4 separate regions of the Homo sapiens genome follow, and all the other regions are linked to region 3. Evidence: promoter capture Hi-C in human tissues and cell types (Jung and others, 2019). All regions are on one chromosome and are shown on one strand. Each heading gives the region's core, a stretch centred on a gene start or on the middle of the fragment in contact. The rest is flanking DNA. Distances are from core to core; before and after follow the strand shown.

Region 1 (3,426 bases), core at 800-3,299, 280 kb after region 3:
TTTTGAGACAGAGTCTCGCTCTGTCACCCGGCTGGAGTGCAGTGGCGTAATCTCGGCTCACTGCAACCTCTGCTTCCCGGGTCCAAGCAGTTCTCCTGCCTCAGCCTCCTGAGTAGCTGGGATTACAGGTGCACACCACCACACTCAGTTAATTTTTTTATTTTTAGTAGAGACGGGGTTTCACCATGTTGGTCAGGCTGGTCTTGAACTCCTGACCTTGTGATCTGCCTGCCTCAGCCTCCCAAAGTGCTGGGATTACAGGCATGAGCCACTGCACCTGGCTGAAAGTGAGACTGTTGATGATGGTCTTGCAAGATCGGGTGTCTGATGGGCAGCCACAGCCAGCACAGTTTCAACAAATAATTTATCCCCTAGTGCACAGGTGTCTCCCCGGGTTCCTCACAGGCTGAGTACTCTGGGGTCACAGTCTTCTGGGACGTCACCTATTGGTTGTTGGGCAGGGGCTGTAGGTGTTTTTTTTAGGGGTGTCCTGTTGCATTTTGTTGCAGCCCACAATGCATTGCAATCCCAGTCAGCCCAGGGGCTCTTCAAGTATTTGACTTATGACCTAAGTAGCTGGGCAGGCTGATAAGAACAGACAAAGCCAGCTATTTTGCAGGCTAGTAAACTGTTATCTTAGACTAAACTTCTTTAGTTCAGGTGAGAGCACCTAAGGGCCGGGGGGAAGGGAGGGAGAAGGGGAGGCCGGCAAGCAGGCACTGGCGATCCAGGCAGGGGCCTCGGACCTCCTGTTTCTTCTGTAGTTTGCTGACTTAAGCCGATTCAAGGCACTTTGTCTTGGAAACGGACCACTGTAGACACTGTTGCCTTCACTCCCCGCTTGGCCTCCTTTGTTCTTCTAGGAGAAGATGCCTCGGCACTTTCACGAGTTTGGGGTGTGCACAGATGGGGCTTCTAGTAGGCTCCTGTGCCTTCGAGTGGCTTCCCAGACACCGCCTGGGGTTGTGGACCTGAGCCAGGCCAGTCCTCTCGCTGTCAGAGAAACGGCGTGCACTGCTCAGCTGCTCAGTCCTGGGCTTTGGGGGCTACGTGACATCCATTCCTGTCAAAAATCCATGGCGGCCATAAAGATTCAGCAAATGCACCGACGCTCAAACAGACAAATGTCCCGGCACTTCCTTTTGTGGTTGGGGCTTTTTCTTCTGTTCAGGGAAACATTTGTCTACCCCAAGCTTATAACAATATCCCAAGAATGGGGTTTGATCAGACTTCTATGTACACCAGTCTCACAGACGCCCTCAATAAGTGCTTTTAAAAGTTCTAGCCGGTCGCAGAGGCTCACGCCTGTAATCCCAGCACTTTGGGAGGCCGAGGCAGGCGGATCACGAGGTCAGGAGATCGAGACCATCCTGGATAACGTGGTGAAACCCTGTCTCTACTAAAAATACAAAAAATTAGCCGGGCGTCTTGGCGGGCGCCTGTAGTCCCAGCTACTGAGGAGGCTGAGGCAGGACAGTGGCGTGAACCCGGGAGGCAGAGCTTGCAGTGAGCCGAGATCACGCCACTGCACTCCAGCCTGGGTGGCAGAGCGAGACTCCGTCTCAAAATAAATAAATGAAATAAAATAAAATAAAAGTTCTAATGAAAGCCTGTGTCATAGCTTAATTGACAGGGGTTTTCTTTCAGGACAAGAGGTGCCTGCACCATCCCAAAGCCTCGGCTGCCGGGCCAGTGCTCTCAGACACGAGGCATCAGCTCGTTTCAGTGGAACAAGCTTTCCTCCTCACAAGATGCCAAGAACCCGCGCCACCCACGGGCACAGCAGGGGTTTGGAATGCAGGCATTCCCAGCTAGGTCTGGCGTGAGCTTAAACCACCCGTTGTTAAATCCTCATGAAAAGTCACTTACAAAGTTCTCCTGCATACAGAGTAGTGGAGGGCAGAGGGTGTCTCACAGGCCTGCTGGGCCCGTTGCACCCATACTCCTTCCCTCCCTTCTGTCCAGTCTCCCTCCGTGTCCCAGAGGACACCCCAGCCCTTTGGCCCCCCGCGGCCCAGGTGCAGTGGCCGAAGTCCAGCTCCCTGGGTCTTGCTCCGAGGCCGGCACAGTCTTGACTGGACCAAGAGAGGGTCTGGGGAGTGCATGGCCTTGTCTCTCTAAGCACATCCTAAGGAGTTCTCCTCCCACTTGGGGCCTTGCCCCAGACCCTCCCTCCTGCCCAGGATCACTGCTCCAGGCTGGCCACATTCACCCGATGGGGGCTCTGCCCCTCGCCCCAGGCCTGAGTCCTACTTCATTTATGCGGCTGCTTCAACAATGCAAGGAAGAGATTTGTAATGGGAAAGGTATTTTATTTCTTTTTGAAATTATTTCCAGCTGAATGATGTTAGTAAAAATACAGAGAGAATACAACAAATGACATTTAGTAATTTTTTCTGACTAACCCATTTTAGGGTTGTTTATATACAAAGAAGAATATGAACAAGAACAAATTTAATAAATAGCTGTAGCCTAATACACAACCGAAAGACCGTAACTCCAACAGCAGAGATACCCTGAGAACAGAATAAGGAGGTGGTGCTGAGCGTGTAAAATCCCAGACAACGACCCTCCCTGAGCGAGTGTCCTGAACATGACCACATTCTCGTCGCCGTCTCGGGACCTTCCTGCCGCCTGAGTGCACCGCCTCCCGCCCGGCTGTTGTCACTTGCACCCACAGACCTGCGGCTCACAGTGGGCCTGTCGACAGCCGGAGGCACCGTAAAAAACTGCAGGGAGGAGGCAGTCAACGAGTCGCTCAACTACACAAAATTAATGATGTTAACTAAGAAGCTAAAATAAATATCCTGTTTTCTTTTCTTTTCTTTTCTTCTTTTTTTTTTTTTTTTTGACGGAGTCTCGCTCTGTCACCCAGGCTGGAGTGCAGTGGCGCAATCTCGGCTCACTGCAAGCTCCACCTCCCGGGTTCACGCCATTCTCCTGTCTCAGGCTCCCGAGTAGCTGGGACTACAGGCACCCACCACCACGCCCGGCTAATTTTTGTATTTTTAGTAGAGACAGGGTTTCACTGTGTTAGCCAGGATGGTCTTGATCTCCTGACCTCGTGATCTGTCTGCCTCGGCCTCCCAAAGTGCTGGGATTACAGGCATGAGCCACCGTGCCCGGCCACTTTCTTTCTTTCTTTTTTTTTTTTTTTAAAAAAACAAAACAACTTTGGGTTTTATTTAAAATGCCCGTGGAGGTGGTTAGCGCCCCATTCTTCTGCTGTAGTTATTTCACCCCGGGAGGGTGTGGGCCTTAGCCATGTGGCCGTGATGGTCGTATCTGAAGTGTGAATACTTCCCCGCGCTATCTTCTAACCTGCGCTGTCTCAGCTTAGTGTGAACGTACGGACCGTTCTCAAATCCTGGTGAAGTCACTGGCAGTTTTTTCCTGCACACAGAGTAGCTGTGCTGTTTTTGAGCT
Region 2 (3,193 bases), core at 258-2,757, 360 kb after region 3:
GATTAGGTATGATAAACTTTTCTTCCCCTTCACACAAAATTTAACTTTGGTCATTTAAGTAGTATACTACCACATATATATAGTTACCAAAGAAAAATTGGTGGCTGGGCACGGTGGCTCACGCCTATAATCCCAGCACTTTGGGAGGCCGAGGCGGGTGGATCACCTGAGCTCAGGAGTTCAAGACCAGCCTGGCCAACATGGCGAAACCCCGTCTCTACTAAAAATACAAAAATTAACTGGGCGGGGTGGCTCACGCCTATAGTCCCAGCTACTCGGGGGGCTGAGGCAGGAGAATCGCTTGAACCCAGGAGGTGGAGGTTGCAGTGAGCCAAGATCATGCCATTGCACTCCAGCCTGGGTGACAAAAAAAAAAAAAAAGAAAAATTGGTAACAAAATGAAGAAAGCCATAAACATCCTTCTAACTCTATTCTCTTATATCAGGGAGAAAACAACCTCAGCATAGTTTATGGGACAGAGGTTCTGTAAAAAAAATCCCCACTTATCACCTTATTCAATTCCATCTCCTAATTCTATACTTCATGAATAGAAATATTGATCTACAATGCTCTGAGCTAATAAACCATCTCAGTAAATTTCATTACAACCGTGTTCAACATTTCAAGTAATTTTGCAAGTACTTGTTCATTTGTATATGTTAATGTCATAACCAATGTTATATTTGTCAACAGTCTTAGAACTACGTTTATTTTTAGAGCCTAAAGTGATTGTACCACGTTTCTACTTTAACTGAGTATAATTGCATGAATAAAGTTAAATAATAATGAAGGGATGAAGCTTCAATAACACCCAAAGACACAATTTTCCACTTATACACAAGTATTTTTTCAAAGGCTGCTGTATATATTTAAATAACTTTTAAAAATCTGCATAAAAATCAGCATATGACTTACAAAATTAGCTCAACAATTAACTTAGCCAAAAATTTTTAAAGTAGACTAAAGCTTAACTAAGAACAATTTTCATTCTTTGGGAACTACAATAAGTACAAACCTGGTTTGTTTTACCACTGACTATGTTTCTGAGCCAAGATTTTTTAAAGCAATTTTCAACTCACTTTTCAGACCTAAAAAGAAAGACTAAAGCACACACACAGTATTTTAAAAAGTAAAAAACGAAAGTAATAAATAAACAAGAACTTGGCTGGGTGCGGTGCCTCATGCCTGTAATCCCAGCACTTTGGGAGGCCGAGGCGGGTGGATCATGAGGTCAAGAGATTGAGACCATCCTGGCCAACATGGTGAAACCCCGTCTCTACTAAAAATACAAAAATTAGCTGGGCGTGGTGGCATGCACCTGTAGTCCCAGCTACTTTGGAGGCTGAGGCAGGAGAATCGCTTGAATGTGGGAGGCAGAGGATGCAGTGAGCCGAGATCATACCACTGCACTCCAGCCTGGTGACAGAGCAAGACTCCGTCACATAAACACACACACACACAGACAACAATAAACAAACAAACAAGAACTTAAAGCCAAGGAAATTATTGTATATTTGGGCTAACACTTGTTTAAATGAGAGTCAGGGCTTGGTTTTGTTTTAAAGTTTTAGAAAACTTAGCCTTAAAAACTGCTAGAAAGAAAAAGCAAAATAAGTCAGCTCTTAGACTGCTGCCTGTCCCTCTGCATTGGACATGAAATTTAAAGCCTGCAGAGGGGCGTGGATCTGCGTATGCTCATCACGGCAGTCTCAGTTCAAGGCACATTTTGACAAGAAGCATTTTGACAAGAAGCTCCGATCCAAGCACTGATGTCAATAAAAATCACAATCTGCAACAAAAAGTTTCTTTGCTGCGAGCTTTTCCCAAAGCCTCTCTAATCACTGAAGCTATTTCAGGGCTGACACGCCACTACCCGGGCAAGGAAAACACTAAGGTTTACCCTCACTTCAGATCATCTTCATGATTTGCTGTTGTTCTTAACCTTCTCATCATCAATATTTCAGCCTAAATAGAAGTGCTTGAAAAAAATACTGTATTAACAGACACAGTCACGCCAAGACACCAAGCCTCCCAGCAGCAGCTTTTCCCTGACAGGCTGTGCAGCGTCAGACTCACCGCACAGAACAAGCGGGCACGGGCCTGGCCCTGCCCCATCGCTGACTCCACTCTTCTCGCCCTCCCCACCCCCACCAATCACAGTCCCAGCCCCATTTACACAGAAGCAAGTGGATTCTGCAGCTGAGCGCCGAGCGCTGAGCGTGGGGAGGAGAAGCAACGGCAGCCCGGAGACCTGCCCCGGCACCAGAACCCTGGAAGTGCAGCGCGCAGGCCGCTCGCGGAGGCCGACATCCGTCCGGCTTTGCTGCAGTCTCCTCTTACCTTTGTACCTGCCGTACAGCCGCTCCAGCTTCTTCTTGTCCACAGCGTTCCGCATGGACTCCCTGTGGAGCGAGTCTGGGTTTTGGAAGAAGCTGTCCGTGGCCTCGTCTAGTCTCCACTCATTCTGCGTTAAGCAGTAGATAGCAGTTCTCTCGCCAGCCTGAGTGCACGCCATAAACTGGCGGACCTTGTCCTTCTGAGACGATTTAAGCTTATGCTTTGGGATGCAAAAGAAGTAGGAAAGCCAATGAAGCCGCTCCAGGTTTGTCCCAGCTTTAGCCTAACGCCTGCACTTTAACTGGGCAGAATTAGAGACAAAGCCTTGCTCTTCATCAGTTACAAAGACTGCACAGTCTTCTGAAAATGGAAACAACAGCATCTATACTGTAACAAACAGGCAGTCTAAGCTTCAAAAATTATGAGAATTAACATTTTATACAAAATACATTCTGATCTCTATCCAGTTCACTCTGCATGAAGTGTGACTATCATTTTTCTCTAAAACTCTCAGTAACTCTGTAATGCACATCTAGCCTCTGAGGACACAGGGCAAGGACCTTACGGCACCAGCGGGGGTCACAGCTGCAGTCTTCTTTGGTTTCAATAAAGTTCAGGCTTTAATGAATGGGAAGAGGCTGTGCGGTTTGGAGATTTTTTTTCCCACTTTAAATCACAGAATCACATTGATGAAAATGTACACAAATAACTAAGAATAGCGTTAAAAGTAATTTATGAAAATTTCACAAGCAGGCACAAAAAAACCTGTTATGATTAAATGGAAACAATAATACTAATAACAAGAATGCCTCTGTATACCAGACAGAAATAAAATGAAAAAATAGGACAGAGGCTC
Region 3 (3,732 bases), core at 1,078-3,577:
CCATCCCTGCAGGGCCGTCCTGGGCACCACTGGCACTCACAGCAGCAAGGTGGGCACCATTGGCACTCACAGCAGCAAGGCAGGCACCAGCAACCCACCTCGGGGGCACTCAGGCATCATCTACTTCAGAGCAGACAGGGTCTATGAACTACAGCCGTGGGCTGCTTCCAAGGCACCCTGCTCTTGTAAATAAAGTTTTATGGGAACACACCCATATTAGTGTCCATGGAGTGGCCGTGGCAGAGACGTCCAGCCGGACAGACCAGCTGACCCGCCAAGCCCAGCATGGTTAGTGTCAGGACCTCTGCTGAAGATGCTTGCTGACCCTGGCCAGACCCCGGTTCCTAATGCCCCCTAAACGGGACGGGAGCCAGTGGCGGGCCCTGATCCAGGTCAGAGCTGGCTCTGCTTTCTCTTTTGTCCGAGTGACCATGCCTCAGTTTCCTCATGTGTAAAACAGGAGCCCACCGTGATGCTTATGGTGGGATGAGATCAGCATGGATGGAACAAGGCCCTGGAAGGGCCCATGCCATGGTCATCGACAGCAAAGCCACTCTGCAGACAGATGCTTCAGTGAATTGGTAGAAAATTCTGCAACCAGAATGCCCGGGGCTCCTGAGGGCCTAAGCCCAGCCCAGGGTTCTGGAAGCCACTCTGACTTCTTGGGAGTGGAAGTTGGCAGGACTCTTCCTGGGAAGAAGCGGAGGGTGGGGATGAGAGGACAGTTCAGGAGCCCACCCAGACCCACAGGAGGAAACTAGGGGAGTCATGCGGGGTCCTGGTGGAGCGCCAGCCTCCCTTCCTGCCAATGGGAAATGCAGGCGCCCACCTCATGGTGCTGCCGGAGGAGGGGGCCCGGGACTCCCCAGAGGCTTCGCTGAAGGGCCTGGGCGCCCCCAAAGGCTACATGTTTCATATGGGACGTGCCACCTGCCACGGCTCAGCTCCAGCTTTCTGTGAGTGGCGAGATAGAATACGGGGAGGCCACTGGCCATGGGCCTGGGACAGGGTGGGATGAGGCGGCAGGCTTGGGCCACCAAAGCCAGCATCGCCACCCAGCATTGATGACAAAGACTGCGTGTCTGCCATGAGCATCCTGCTGTTGGTGCACACACCGCATTGGTCTCTCCATACAAACATGCCTAGAGGCGATGTCAGAGGGTGGAGACCAGGAGAGGCAGGAGTCAGACATCTGGTGCCACCAGGAAGGCCCTTCTCAGAGGACCAGGCTGTGCGTGGTGCCCGCCGTGGGAGGCCAGCCTGGCGTTGGCATCCAGCATCATCAGTTTGTGCAGTCGGGTGGGGCTCAGTGAGTGCCTCCTGTGTGCCAGGCACAATGACGCACAATGTGTGCACACCAGGCTCATGTGCAGGTGGCTGCGAGACAGGGCGACCCATCAAGGCAGATGCACCATGAGGCAGTGGCCAGTGCTGTGGGTGTTAGGGGCATTGCTCCCCGGCCACTACGGCATAGCAGGCAGTGATCGCCACACTGGCCAAGCTTTAGACCATTTATTCCAGAGACCCCAGAGGCAAAAAGCCCGGCTGCACCTCCCAGTGACTCCCACAGCCATTGAGCAGAGACACTCAGGACCTTGTGATGGGAGGTTTCTGCACTGGAGAACGAGCCCAGAAGCCCTCTCAGCCTCGGAACAGTGTGGCCAGTGGTGGGCAGGTCAGGAGGGGCTTCAGACACAGCCTGTCCCTCCAGATGGTCACGGGAAGGTCACTCCCCACAGAAGTACGTTTTGGGGCCATGCGGGCACAGAAGGTTTGGGGGTGGGTGGGGCAGGTGCCAGCCTGGCCTGTGGGAGGCCATGGTGCAGATGCCAAGCCCCCCCCGTGACATGAGACCACCTGATACCACCCAGAGAGTGGCTGTGAGCGGAAGGGCCCGCCCAGAAACAAGCAGGGCCTTGGGGCAGAAGTCCTGGGCTCAGATCCCACGCTCACTGCCAGCGGCCTCGGCTCAGGCTTCTGCGCTCTCTAAACTTAGTTTTCTCTTCTGGAAAAATGATGGGGAAAATGATATTTGTATGTGAGGACTGAGAGTTAAATGTAAACATCTGGAAACTACAAAATGAGCACGAAATGATGTTTTTATTCTTAGAACAGAAAGTCCCCACACCCGCGGCCCTGGTGACTGATGAGGATGAGGTTCTGCGGGGCCTCTCTGGCCGCCCAGCTCTGCCTGGGGAAGGTGGGGCCAGAGTGGATGTGTTCCCAGCGTGGTCACTCCCCTGCCTCGCCAGCAGGTCTCGGCTCCAATCAGGAGGCCTAAGCCAAGTGATAAGCAGCCAGACAACAGCCATCCCAGCTGGGGCGTGGACTTTGCTCCAGCAGCCTGTCCCAGTGAGGACAGGGACACAGTACTCGGCCACACCATGGGGCGCCCACTGCACCTCGTCCTGCTCAGTGCCTCCCTGGCTGGCCTCCTGCTGCTCGGGGAAAGTCGTAAGTGCCCCTCGCCCTTCAGACCCAAAAGCAGCGCCAGGGAGCAGGGAGGGGCGGCAGTTGGGGAAACCCTCTCATCTCTGCAGCCTGGACGGTGGGTGCCTTGAGTGCTGCCAGAGGCTGGGCTCGGATGGCTGGGCTTGGCCTTTCCAGCCAACGGCATCCTCAAGGCCAGCTGTGGCTCCCTGGGGCTGAGAGTCAGACGGGCGGATCAGAGGTCACAGAGACAAAAACACAAGGACAGAGTCAGAGAGAGAAAGGGAGAGGGAAGGAGAAACGGAGACACAGTGAGATGGGAGGCCAAGAGGCAGAGACAGAGGTAGAAAGACGGAGACAGAGAGAGAGGGAGGGGTTGGGGCAGGCAGAGACAGGACAGTTAGCCATCTGCCACCACAGGGAGGCACAGGACGAGGGGCACAGCAGAGGAGCTCCCAGGGAGGAGGAGGCTGAGCCGAGCCAGTGCCACCACTCTCGGACTGGCTCCGTCGGGGAAGGAGCTGCCTAATGCACAGCTGGACAGGTGGGGGCAGCAGGGCTGTCCAGGACCCCCGGGTCTGTCCAAAAGCAGAGGCCCAGACAGGACAGAAGCCAGGCAAGCCTGGGGACAGCGGAGGAAGAGGAGGCCCCTCTGGTGGGGACACGAGAGACAGGGACCCTAGACTTGTTTGCATCCTGGACAAAGTGGACAGGCAGGGGCACCAAGGGGACCCAGGCCTGGGAAGGGAATGTGTGAGGGAGAGACGGAGCAGGGGGAGACCCTCGTGGGGTGGAAAGGGGAGACCCCTGGGAAGGCTGAGTGGATCCTCAGTGCATCACTGACCTAAACGGCCCCTCCGCCTGGTGACTTGGAGCTCCAGTCACATCACACGGGGGTCTTCTCCATCCCACCCTCAACCCCCTGCCCTCCCCAGCCTCTGTCCCCTGAGCCACATCTTCCTGTCTCCCACGCGGAACGGGACTCCCGTCTTCATGGGGTACTGTGTGGCTCCAACTCGCCCAGCCTTCTTCCTCCCCCTCAGGCCACACTGCCCCCTGCAGGAGCCCACTGTGATGCTTGTGGTGGGATGAGATCAGCGTGGGTGGAACAAGGCCCTGGAAGGACCCATGCCATCATCATCGACAGCAAAGCTACTCTGCAAACAGACAGATGCTTCCGCGAATTGGTAGAAAATTCTGCAGCCGGAATGCTCTAGGATCCTGAGGCCCTAAGCCCGGCCCGGGGCTCCCGAGGCCCTAAGCCCGGCCCGGGACTCTGGAAGCTGCTCTGGCTTATTGGGA
Region 4 (3,711 bases), core at 35-2,534, 340 kb after region 3:
TTTGTATGATTTACAGAAAATAATAAGGAAGGGGGTAGTATTATGACCACGCCCATCTCAGTGACGGGGTCACCACTCTAGAGGCAGGAGAAGTTAACGTTCTCAGGTGTAAGCATTTCGGTCAATCATCTGAAGCACAACTTCCGGTACCTTCTTCATCGTAGTTAGACATATCATCCGCAATCATGTTTCCAAAGTCCAGCAGGAGGTTCCAGGTGTCCCTTGGAATTGATCTTTTGTGATGTTCCTAATATATGAGAGAAAAAAAAAACCCACCAGGTTTAAAATACAGAGCTTAACTCTCATATATTCTAGTGGCCTAGCGATCTTCAATTAATGTTCATTAATTTGATTAGGAACAAGTACAATAAAATTGTTAAAAGTAATAGCGTTCTGTATAAATGTTAAGTGCTACAACAACGCTAATGTCCAAATATAGAAAGCAGATTTATTTAAGAACAAAACATTTTAAATATTACAATTATAAACTCCTGTTTTGTCACATAGAAGGGCAGCATTTTAATCTCGTTACCTGCCCATTAGCTGCATGTATATATATATTCACGAACAGCTCATAAGCTTGTCTTACATTTTAAAACATTAACTGCTATCAAATTACACATAGTTTTCTGCAACTTGTTTTTTTCCCACTCAGCATAATGTCTGAAACGTATGCGGGCTGACGTGTGTGAATGTGCGTTCCTTTGCGTGGCTCCAAAGCCGTGCTCCATCGCACCAATATTCTGATTTTTTAGTCCGTTCTCCTGTGGATGGTCACTGGCTTTTCCAGTATTCTGCCGTTACAATGACACTGTGAGCGCCTTCATCCCCTTCTCCACGCACAAGAGCGTGAGGTTCTCTGGGAAACATCTGTGACTTAGGTTTGACCCCAGGTAAGGCGTAAGGGGGCTGTGGGCACAGCATTACTGACCTCTGGATATTTCGAGAGAAGTAATACAGCACATGATGTAATGAAACACATAGCTGCAAAGACGTCTCTCCATGGCAAACCCACAGGACTGAGTGACGTCACCTTCCACAGACAGCTCCGCCCTCCACCTGCCACACTCTCTGGGTACCATTCCCAGGCAAGGAAGCGGAAGTGACGTGCCCAAGGCCACAGGACTCTAAGTGGCAAAGTCTGTGTCACCTGGTGTCAGGTGAAGGGAGGCAGTGCGGGTCCTGGCCCGGCCGTGGGTTGGGCGGTGGAAGACCACTTCTTTCACTTTCATGGACAGAACAGCAAGAGGTCTGGGCATCTCTGCCATTACCGGGCTTGTGGCCACTCACTTCCAAAAACCCACAGCTGCACCTGCTGCCAGCAAGACGGGCTGGCATGACGCAGCCTTGCCCCGCACCAGCAAAGTGTCTCTCCAGAGGGTCCACAAAGGCCTCTTTTCCTCCTGAGCATGGTGAGACACACTTAGAAATGGCTTCAGACCACAGACACACACAGAGGCTGGGCACCGCCACATACAATCCGCAGTTCCGGAGCCCAAACCAGTCCACAGAAGTGTGGCGCTGGCACCATGTCGAGGATTCGGAGTTCTCAGTGGAAAGACAGAATTACCGTCTAGGTCCTCAGAGGAGACAACACGGGGGCTGCTGGGGTTGCAGAGTCTCCAGGAACCCCAGCCTGAGAGGAGCTTCCCGTGACTGCCAAGAAGCCACGTTCTGAGGAGGCCCCGGAGTGGCCCCAGCTCAGCCCTGCAGTCTCCGGCAAGGTGACAGAGCCAAGTGGCAACCTGTCTGGACCTGCGGATCTTTGTGTGGGATGTTCATCTGCTGAAAACCTCCACGTGTGAGACCTGAGGTGGATGATTACATGCAGCCTCATACCTACCGACTTCCCTCCACAGTGGGCACACAGCGAGATGCAGGAGGACACTTACCATTAAGAATGTGTTCCAGAGATCTAAAAATTTAAACCTTCCAGATAACACTAATTTCCAATACGCAACAGCCATTTCTAAGTCTGGTAAAAAGAAAGAAAGAGCAGTTAGTAAATCTCACTCTCTTTTTCTACTGCACAAAAAACGACCACTTCTTAGCATGTCAATATTTACTTAATAAAATGTGGCAATCTCACCCAAGAGTCATGAGGCTTAATCTCTACGGAAGTGCTCCTGAGAACTGTACGTAGTCTAATTTTATAAATCTGGGGAAACTCTTTTTAAAAGGATTTGTATATTAAGTTATTTGGATATGCACACAATTCCCCCCTAATTAATCAGTTTTGGAGACTTGCCTTTTCACACATATTGGGTGTTCTTTAAACCTGACCTGATCTGGATACTATTAATGCGTATCATTTGTTTTTAAAAATAGGCCACTGGCCTGAGTGTCGAACTGCAAATCAAAGGACCAGTTTAGGAAGGAAGGGACACACTGTTCTCCAAATAGACCTGCCTTGTTGCTATATGAACTAAGACAGAATCTGTTTCACAAGTAATTACAGCGGCCTTATGAGGGCTCCAATTTGTCCCTAAAGTGTCAAGTCAAATCGGCAGCTAGCAGGGAAAGCGTTCTCACTGATGCATCTACACAGGACACTGCGTATCAATCAAAGCCAACGCCCTCTTTTCCCACACGGGAAGGTGGTGATTATTTCACGACTTCTATATAAATCTCTGCTACTGAAGATGTCTAATAGAATATGAATGCCGAGTTTCAGGGCTGTCTCCAATCCATAGTTTGTGAAACACTGATTTATTCTCTGCTCACCAGAAGCTTGATAACGATTTCTTTTTATATGCTTGACACAGCAAGTATATAAAGGGGTTCAGAATTCTATTTTTTTAAAGTGACCGGCCGGGCGTGGTGGCTCACGCCTGTAATCTCAGCACTTTGGGAGGCTGAGGCGGGTGGATCACCTGAGGTCAGGAGTTTGAGACCAGCCTGACCAACATGGAGAAACCCCGTCTCTACTAAAAATACAAAATTAGCTGGGCGTGGTGGCTCATGCCTGTAGTCCCAGCTACTGGGGAGGCTGAGGCAGGAGAATCACTTGAACCTGGGAGGCGGAGGTTGTGGTGAGCCGAGATTGCGCCACTGCACTCCAGCCTGGGCAACAAGAGCGAAACTCCGTCTCAAAAAAAAAAAAAATTAAATAAATAAATAAATAAAATAAAAAATAAATACATAAAGTGACCTCCTTTAATCATGTTGAATAGTGTTCACCACTTTTAGGCAATAAAAGAAGAGTTATATTTATGTAAGATTAATGTGAAAAGCAGATTAATAAAAGTTAGGTAATATGTTAGTTTAAATGCAAAGTACATAACTAAACACTTCTCAAAAGGTTTTTTTCTAAATCTGGTTTAATCCCACTTAAACAGAAGTTATTAAAGTTGGAGCTGTAGCAAGATTTCCAGGGTCGATCATTATTAAAATGGGATAAGAAAGAGGCATATGAGTAGCAAATCCCACTTTAAATAAAACGCCTCTAAATTCCCCGTGTGCAAAGGCTTCATGACCAACTTTATCAGTTTTGAATACCCTGGAGTCTGAATCAGAAAGAAAGAGAGAGTCAGAAAGTGCCAAGTAACTGAGATATGGAACAGCTCTCTAGACCTTACCGATGGGACCCGCAGTAAAATGCTAAGAAGATGATTAGTCTTGTCCTGCTTATAAGTCTACATCCTTATCACTTAGGAAGAACATTAATTGAAATCTATATTCAACTCATCTTAATGATGTAAAGCTTTCACA

The links. Contacts are between HindIII fragments. The study calls those that stand out against the background at their distance.
Region 1: a contact is called between a fragment that was not itself captured here and the fragment with the promoter of F10 in region 3, in 2 of the 25 tissues and cell types used here (dorsolateral prefrontal cortex and lymphoblastoid cells).
Region 2: a fragment that was not itself captured here is called in contact with the fragment with the promoter of F10 in region 3 in 2 of the 25 tissues and cell types used here (liver and mesenchymal stem cells).
Region 4: a fragment that was not itself captured here is called in contact with the fragment with the promoter of F10 in region 3 in 2 of the 25 tissues and cell types used here (IMR-90 fibroblasts and dorsolateral prefrontal cortex).

The regions. Positions count from the first base shown.
Region 1 is chr13:113,397,316-113,400,741 of GRCh38, forward strand. ADPRHL1 (ADP-ribosylhydrolase like 1) reads right to left here. Exons shown (of 8, transcript NM_001394807.1): 8 at 2,296-3,426. Among named protein-coding and RNA genes, the nearest start is that of GRTP1, 35 kb to the left of the region's middle. RefSeq lists a silencer at 719-1,013. The HindIII fragment of the contact is 6,890 bases long and covers 1-3,426 here.
Region 2 is chr13:113,481,500-113,484,692 of GRCh38, forward strand. DCUN1D2 (defective in cullin neddylation 1 domain containing 2) reads right to left here. Exons shown (of 7, transcript NM_001014283.2): 2 at 2,341-2,557. Among named protein-coding and RNA genes, the nearest start is that of DCUN1D2, 7.6 kb to the right of the region's middle. The HindIII fragment of the contact is 3,664 bases long and covers 1-3,193 here.
Region 3 is chr13:113,120,472-113,124,203 of GRCh38, forward strand. It overlaps F10 (coagulation factor X), which reads left to right and starts at 2,328. Exons shown (of 8, transcript NM_000504.4): 1 at 2,328-2,454. The coding sequence starts at 2,385. F7 (coagulation factor VII) reads left to right here. Exons shown (of 8, transcript NM_019616.4): 8 at 1-214. The HindIII fragment of the contact is 14,274 bases long and covers 1-3,732 here.
Region 4 is chr13:113,459,162-113,462,872 of GRCh38, forward strand. It overlaps DCUN1D2 (defective in cullin neddylation 1 domain containing 2), which reads right to left. Exons shown (of 7, transcript NM_001014283.2): 5 at 1,893-1,975; 6 at 151-247. Among named protein-coding and RNA genes, the nearest start is that of ADPRHL1, 7.5 kb to the left of the region's middle. The HindIII fragment of the contact is 3,864 bases long and covers 1-3,216 here.